3 separate regions of the Homo sapiens genome follow, and regions 2 and 3 are each linked to region 1. The links are contacts of gene promoters, found by promoter capture Hi-C in human tissues and cell types (Jung and others, 2019). All regions are on one chromosome and are shown on one strand. The core of a region is centred on a gene start or on the middle of the fragment in contact, and the rest is flanking DNA. Distances in the headings are between cores, read along the strand shown.

Region 1 (2,700 bases), core at 162-2,661:
GACATACATTGCAGATTTAGATCACTGTTAAATGACCAGAAAAGTATTTCCAATGTTAAAATTATTCTAATTCTCAAAAAGTACCTTTAATTTCAAAACCACTATTAGGAGTGCTTACGGCTATTCAGAGGGAAGTATTAATAAAGCTAAAGCCTCCATCCGAGCTGTTAGTAGGACTCCATCGCTTCCCAGTATGTATAACTCCTTTTCTAAGCCTCCTCTCGTCCTGGCATCAGTGGCACCATGAGCCAAAAACAAAACAAACAGAAAACTTGAGTATTACCTCGCTGTCAGTGCTCCTTCTAAAAACGACTGTAGCTGAAAACTCCCTAAGAATGAACTCGAGTGTAGAGTGCACAGCGGAGAGTGAAACACCCTAGACAGCACGCAGCATTTAAAGCTACAAAAACCTGGCTGTCCACTTCGCCTGGTTTGTTTTGTTTTGTTTCAATCGGCCTGCGGTGGCAGCATAGGTTGAAAGGCGGAGACTGGAATCGCCTGCCAAGCCTCCTCTTTGGGTCACACAGAGCGGTGCCTCCCGGTTCACGCCAAGTCCATCCCCCACCCTCTTTCGCCATTCATCGCGTTCCCCTCCCTTCCCCCCATCATGTGACCGCAGCCCGGACTCCGGGCTTGTTTTTCCCCTCGGCTCAGCCCCAGCGCGCAGGCGCCTGGGAGCCCATTCATTCGAACTGCGTAACAATGAGCCCCGGGGCCCAGCGGCTCCGCGAGCTCCTCAGCTCAGCCAGAATCCCCCTCAGTCCAGAAGGAGGCGGCGCCTCACTGGGGTCCCCCACCTCCGGCCAGCCCCCCACCCCTGGCCAAGCTCCGACCCTCCGCCCACAAACGGGGAGTTGAAGTCAAACTTTCCTGGGCAGCCCCGGCGCTGCGTCGGCCCCTTCCCCCGCCCTGGCCCGCCCCATCTCCACACCCGGCCCGGCCACCCACCGCGCGACCTGGCCCGGAACTTCGCCCTCCCCCTGCCTCCTCCCGGCCCCCGCCCGAGACCCCCTAGCGCCGCCGCCCCGAAGCCCAGGTGAGCTCGCGGGAGACGCTGCTCCGGTGGGCTCGCCGCGGGCACCAATCGAACGGTTAACTGCCCCCACCCCAAGGGCAACCCTCCGAGAAGAAGGAACGAGGACCCGAGCCCTCCAGTCTGCCCAATCCCCCGCGCTCCTGCCCCTCCCTTCCCCACCCCCACCTCTTCCCTAACTGAAAGACAACAAACCTGCCGCGAAGTGCCGGCAGCCCAGGCGCGGGCCGCTCCGGCCACGACAACACCACCAGCAGCTCTCGTACCCCCTCTCCGACCGACGTCGGCCTCCCCCGCGCGGGTTACTGCTCCCGCGGCAGCTCTTACTCCTCAACCGAAACTTTCCTACTTACCAAACCCGTCGCCATTACCAAGTCTTTCAAGCTTCGTCTTCCCCCTCCCCTCAACCCCCTGGGGGTTGAGCCCCGCCCAGCTCTTTCGCCCTCTTATTGGACTGCAGAACTGCCATTCGGTTCTTCCCCTTTCCCATTGGGTGGTACCGTGGTCCGTCTCGGGGGGCGGGCATGTATTGACTTTTGTGTTGTGTTTACTGGAGAAGATGGCATGTCAATCACAAGAGTAAGTGCTTCGGATTGGACTATTGCCGAGAGTCCGGGGACCCAAGCCAAACTTTGTCCCCGAAATGGATTGTGGGTTCGTAGTCTCAAGCCTTGGTCCTTGGCTGTGGGAGACTGCTGGCCGGGGAAGAGCTGGACTACGTATCCCAGAGGCGCTCGCACAGCGCAGTCTTGATAGTAAACAAGAGTCATAGGGACACGTGTATCAGCTCGTTTGTTTTGGTGTCTGGGACAAAAGGGAGGGGGCGGAGGAAGGGAGTGTTTTAAAGCTTGGGCCTCTTCTTTTCCTCCGGGCCTCTGCTAACACTTAGAGCGGCCCAAGCCTCTTGCAGCACCCAATCCGGGCCATAAACAGCCAGAGTTGCTCGCTGCTCAAGAGTTTGGCAGGAGGCCAGGGTATTGTTTTAGTGCGAGGGGAAGGAGATGACTGCACCAGCGGAAGTACTGCAGGCTAGCGAGGGACTTGATCACCCACAAATCACGGCCCCAGGCACGAAGGGGTCGAAAGTGATGCTGGGGGCTGCACTGGCAGTGGGAAGAACTAGAAGTCCTTTCTCTTGTGCCTTGCCTCACCACTCCCAGGACAGCAACTTGAGATTGCCTTGTCAGCTCTGTTCAGTTCACCTAAGTTTGTTGAGCCGCCACCTAAGTGCCAGGAAGAGTGAGGCTGGGGGATGGACTGTGAGCAAGCGAGAAGCTGGAGTCTAGAGAATTTACAAAGCGGGGGCGGGGGCGGGCGATTACGAAATTGAGGCAAGTTAAAGCGGCATTTTCCATACTGATTAGTATGCTCGTTGGTTAACGTAATACAAAGGGTGTAATGTATGACGTAAACTGATTTAATTTGTGAATCATTATCAGTAAGTTTCTCTGGTGAGTTTTATTAACCCTCTTTTCCTTCTAGACGTTTTCTCATTGATGAAAGAAACTGTCTTTCCACTTCATTTCCACTAGGAGTTCCTCAAGTTACGAATTCTCTGACTCACCAGAGACGCTTCCCTGCTTTATAGTTAACTTCTCTTTAAACATGGCTGTCCATTCACAGTCGGCTGCATCTAGTCAATAATTGGTGTCTTTACCATTCACATT
Region 2 (2,700 bases), core at 74-2,573, 1.0 Mb after region 1:
ATGTGTCCCTTTTAGTATGCGCACAATATTTTGCACAATATGGCCATTGAGAAGCATTTCTTGTTAAGTACAAGAAATTTACGGTCTTTCTTGTCTGGTAATTAAGTTAAAAAGCAACTGATGTCTCTATCATTGCCTTTTTTTTTTTTTTTCTTTTCTGAGACAGAGTCTCGCTCTGTCGCCAAGCTGCAGTGGCACCATCTCAGCTCACTGCAACCTCCCCTCCTGGGTTCAAGCAATTCCCCTGCCTCCGCCTCCAGAGTAGCTGGGACTACAGGAGCGCGCCACCACACCTGGCAATTTTTTTTTTTTTTTAGTAGAGACGGGATTTCACCATGTTGGCCGGGATGGTCTGGATCTTCTGACCTCGTGATCCACCTGCCTTGGCCTCCCAAAGTGCTGGGATTACAGGCGTGAACCACTGCGCCCGACCCTATCATTGCTTTTTTAACAGTCATGTTGCTCATTCTGTGTTAACGGAGCATTGATTTTACTTAGCATTCAGTTCTAAGTCACAAAGGTCTGTAATTTGCTTGTCAGCTTCTCTCTGTTAACAGGCCAAAAAGAAGTACCAGGAATTGGCCAAAGCTTTGAGGATAAGCACTAGTGGTGTTGGCAGCGACATTCCAGCAGAGAGCAGCAGAGGGCTGAGCGCTGGGCAGCTGCCTGCTGCAGGGCTCCTTGCTCCCAGGAATGTATTTGAGAGATGAGGCAAGGCGGGCGGGCGCACCCCAGGAAATCTCCTATTTCAAGGCAGAAAATGTCTAGAATCAGAGAACAAGAAAAGCTAGAATGTACCATGAGCCTCTTTGATCTGAAAGAGATCATAGTTCTGATGGGATCTGTACTTGTTCTAAGTTCAGCCTCTGCTGGGGGTGGGGGTCAGCCTTGTTTTTTTGGTTGGTTGGTTGGTTTTGAAACGGAGTCTCTCTCTGTCGCCCACGCTGGATTGCAGTGGCACGATCTCAGTTTACTGCAACCTCTGCCTCCCGGGTTCAAGCGATTCTCCTGCCTCAGCCTCCCGAGTAGTTGGGATTACAGGCATGCACCACCACACCCAGCTAATTTTTGTATTTTTAGTAGGGACGGGGTTTCACCACGTTGGCCACTCTGGTCTTCAACTCCTGACCTCAAGTGATCCGCCCGCGTTGACCTCCCAAAGTGCTGGGATTACAGGCGTCAGCCAGGGCACCTGGTCTGTTTTTTGTTTTGTTTTAACATAACATCCTGAAGCAACCTTCCTCCTGACTCAGCATCTGCCTCCTGGAAAGCCACCTTCCTTCCTCTGAGGGGCAGCTTCTCCTCTGTTCTCTGAGAGAGGAGCCAGTGCTTTGATGCAGCCTTATGGTTTTTCTTTTGTGGACTGCCCCTAATTGCAGCAGTCAGCAAGTTCTTTGCAGGGAAGGGCTGACTCACCTGCATTTTGGAAGAAGCCATCCTTATTTTCAGGCACAGAGAACATCTATTAGCCCAAAATGTCTTCCAAATTTCAAGGAGTACATGTTTCAAAAGGAATTGTCATCACAGTTTTACTCCAAGCAGTTGGCTTCCAAGAAGCCTGTCTCTGGCCATTGGGGATGTTAAAATAACCTAAATTTGGCCTGAGGAAGCCTTTGCACCCAAGTCCTTACTTAACTAACTGCAGGCAGCCTGGCTTACTAATCTAATTGAAAGCCTAAATTTAGGAGTATGCTTTTGTAAAAAATAGCTGAGTCTCCGCCATCACGGCAACTGAGCTTCCTTCAATCCCTGGCTGCCAACGATCAAATAAGGCAAACGCTGAGCCGGAACCAGTTAAGCCCTATATGTACCTCACTTCTGTTTTCCGTGCATCCATAACACTTGATCACATTGTTGACCATGTTCTTAGAACCCGTTCTGAATCAGAGGGCTGCCTGATTCACATGTCATGTGTTTTTGTTTTCTGAGTTTTTGTTTTTTTCTCACTTAAACTCTGCTAAACTTGTCTAAGGTTTTTCTTTTTAACAGGGTCTCTGGAACTCACTGCTCAAAGATCTTCCCTCTTGTTTATTGAAAGGTGACAGGTCCCCTCTAAAAACTGCAAGGTCAAGTATGTCTGTGACTTTAGCGACTGTCAAAAGAATGCAGGCAGGCCCAACTGAGTGGGGACACAAGGAAATATAGGGGATGACAAACAAGAACCGTCAGCTCTTGTGCCAGCTTCCTACGTACCGTCTGTGTTGGAACAATCACCCAGGTACTGACAGGTGCCAGCCTAGCTGCAGAGCAGGCTAACCCCAACCCCACCAAGCCCTGAGGGTGAACGTGGAGCAAGAACCTGGCTCACCAACTACAGCAAAAGAACCGTCTTGTTGAGCAAACTCTTCCCATGGGACTGTATAATACCTTTGGTTTCCCAACTTTTTACAAATTTACCTTGATCCTGAAATCTCTGCAGCACTTAAAGATTATGGACTTTTCTGTGAGAATCAGAGCTTTTGGACTATGTGACAGTACTTGTTGCCTGCTCAAAGTCTATTCTTCCTCCTTCCTTAGTGAGAGAACTTTGGACAGTATGTTTGTTTAAAAAGAAACAACAACAAAAAACTGCATTCCAAGCCTCTTGCACAGATTAATGTCACTAAATATGCCGGCGAGCCTGGGGATGAGGCCTTTTGGGAGGTGCATCTGCCCCTGTCCCTGTCCGATCCTGACTGAAACAGGGACACGGCCACAGCA
Region 3 (2,700 bases), core at 132-2,631, 1.1 Mb after region 1:
AATTCCAGGAAGGCCTGTGTTTTGTGTATGTGGATGCGTATTATTAAAGGAAAACCTTCTTGACAAGGCCTTGAACTCGCTGCTGGCCTCTGCCTGGGGTACCTTTGAGGATGAGCAGCTCCAAGGAGCAATGGACAGAAGCTCTAAATCACTAGTGACCAAGGGTAATGTCACATCCCCTCAATTATTTGTTTTTATTAGAGATCAGGAGAATTTGGGGGAAACCTAAAAGTGATTTTGAGCAGTTATTCTCATGCACTTATAAAGACTTTTACCTCTTGCAAAGGACCAGGGCTGGGGAAAGAGACAGAACCAGGATGTAGGTTGGGCCTCATGTACTTGGAGAATGGTATTGAACTCCCTACAGCATGTGGCCCCCAGTTAAGGGAATGGTTTTTCTATATCACAAATGGAAAATATTCTCATTTCTCTGTAATCATAGTCATAGTGTAAAGCATCCTTCGCTAGGGTTTGAATGAAAGAGGTAATCTCCTGATTTCTGCTAAAGAACTTCTCAAATCCTTCATTGCTGATGACTATGACATCCTCATAGGTGCCATTTTCCTCCTAACTTTTTTCCCAAATATTTCTGATCCACCCCAGCAATGCTACTAGTAAATATTCAGAGATTCCTAATCCTAGACTCCTCAGGCATCCTAGGTTTTAGAAGAGAAAGAGAGTTCTCTTTAGTTAAGAACTTGCTGTGGGCCAGGTACTATGTGAGGTAGTTTGCATCCATTTCATTATTTAATCTTTACAGCACAGTGAGATAGGTTTTATTATTCCCCTTTGATGGATGAGGAAACAGAAGTGCAGAGAGGTTCATTAATTTGCCCCAAATCACACAGCAGAGCCAGATTTGACCTGAGATATATTTGGCTTTCTTGCCTATAGCACATTGCTCCTTAAACTAAGTGTGTCTGGCCAGGTGCAGTGGCTCACACCTGTAATCTTAAAACTTTGGGAGGCCGAGGTAGGAGGATTGCTTGAGGCCAGAAGTTCAAGACTTGCCTAGGCAACATAGTGAGACTCTCATTTCTACAAAAACTAAAACTAAAAATAAAATAAGTGTCTCTGACCAGACCTCCTAGCCTGGCTCACACTGTCTCCATGGTACAAAACATTCATATGGTCGAAAAAAAGTATTGTCTCTCAAATGACTGTGAGATTCCACTATCCTTTTATAACTTCACGATATAGAAAATAGTCAAGCTCTTGAGGTTAAAGTAATGTAACTCAGAATCACATGTGGTCCACTGTGAAAAAGCTTAAGGTGACCCAGGGTGCAGCTGTGACTTCCAGAAACGTGGAGACCAAAGGGGAGCTACATAAGGTGTGGAAGGTGCCGAGAAGCACAGTCCCAGCTTGGGGCTGGGGCACTTCCCACCCACCCCGCGGGCTGTGATTAGCCCCCACACCCTGTCCTGGGCCCTGCACTGGCCGCTGCACACCACGCCCCTGCTCTTTGTTCCCCGGTAGCAGAGCCAGTATAATTTCATGCTTCCTAATTTCTGAGGATAGTGAATCAATTCCCCCCACCAGTTTGCCTAGAAGAAGAGCTTATTTAGACAAACGCCTCCAAGGAAACAGTTGTAGAGAGTCACTTAAGAAAACAAGAGGCTGCTAAAGGAATGCTCTGCGTGCAGTGTGGAACAATTCGCAGTCAGCATGGGCGCTCCTCGGCGGGGAGACGCTCCCGGGCAGAGTGAGCACACCTGCCGCACATCCTTCCCAAAAGGAACTCCGCTCATTCCGGACGCTGGACTGCAAATAAAAACAGCCAACGCTAGAGTCCTGGAGTCGGGGAGGGGCTGGGACAAAGGTGAATGAACTTTCCTCCTCTGGCTTCAGATCAGCCTTTAGATTTCTCAGAATGCCTGAGGTCATCTAAGTGGTCTCTAAGTTACTGTCACACCACCCCCATTTTAAGGGGGTTCAGGGCAGCGTGGCTGGTGGGACCCTCTCCTGGGACACTCCTCCAGGCGCCCCCCCCCATCCCCTGGAGGTATTGGACTGAAAACAAACTGCTCGCTTTAGGGGACAAAGGGCACTGGGGGGTTGAGGCTGCAGAGAGGGAACCCCGGGAGGAGAAATGGCCTCGGGAGAGTGGATTCCAGCTTCCATAGAAGGCTGGGAAGGAGCCACCAAGAAGCTTCACCTCCAGTCCAGCCAAACGGTGAGCCGCGGAGCACACTGCTGGCTCCTGGCAGCCCTGAGCAGTTTCTATTACAAAAAGAAAAGGAGGGGAAAGGCTATGAATGCTGGCCTGGTTCCCAGAACAGAGGCTGCAGGGAAAATGGAAACAACTGTTCGCCGGCCCAGTGGGCTTGGCAAGGGCAGGTCAGGGCAGAACCAGAGGGCAGGTCAGTGCAGAACCAGAGGAAAAGGTGGGAGCCCCCAGGCTCTAGTCCCTGGGACCAGAATCACCCATGCCCCACCCCTTCAAGTCTCAGCTCAGATGTGGTGGGAGTGTAAAGAGTGCTGGATTGAGAGTTTAAGTTTTGGCTGAGCTCCTAACCAGCTTCCTCACATGCCCAGGAATCATGGACTCATAGCTCCCAGAGCCCAGGAAGACTCCCTCACCCACTAGGATGACTCACACAGTCCTGCCAGTCCTGGCTGACAGTGGTCCCTCCCATCCTGAGCAGCCGCCAGGTCATCGCATGCTCATGGCTCCCTCCAGTTGCCCTGCTGGACAGA

The links. The method cuts DNA at HindIII sites, captures the fragments that hold promoters and counts their contacts. A contact is called where the count stands out against the background at its distance.
Region 2: a contact is called between a fragment that was not itself captured here and the fragment with the promoter of HBP1 in region 1, in 1 of the 25 tissues and cell types used here (hippocampus).
Region 3: a contact is called between a fragment that was not itself captured here and the fragment with the promoter of HBP1 in region 1, in 1 of the 25 tissues and cell types used here (dorsolateral prefrontal cortex).

Annotation. Positions count from the first base shown.
Region 1 is chr7:107,167,714-107,170,413 of GRCh38, reverse strand. HBP1 (HMG-box transcription factor 1) reads right to left here and starts at 1,411. Exons shown (of 11, transcript NM_012257.4): 1 at 1,229-1,411. RefSeq lists silencers at 712-931, 1,192-1,291, 1,310-1,883 and an enhancer at 1,602-1,761. The HindIII fragment of the contact is 2,484 bases long and covers 1-2,299 here.
Region 2 is chr7:106,151,971-106,154,670 of GRCh38, reverse strand. No RefSeq gene overlaps it. Among named protein-coding and RNA genes, the nearest start is that of SYPL1, 41 kb to the right of the region's middle. The HindIII fragment of the contact is 3,135 bases long and covers 1-2,700 here.
Region 3 is chr7:106,065,002-106,067,701 of GRCh38, reverse strand. No RefSeq gene overlaps it. Among named protein-coding and RNA genes, the nearest start is that of SYPL1, 46 kb to the left of the region's middle. The HindIII fragment of the contact is 5,558 bases long and covers 1-2,700 here.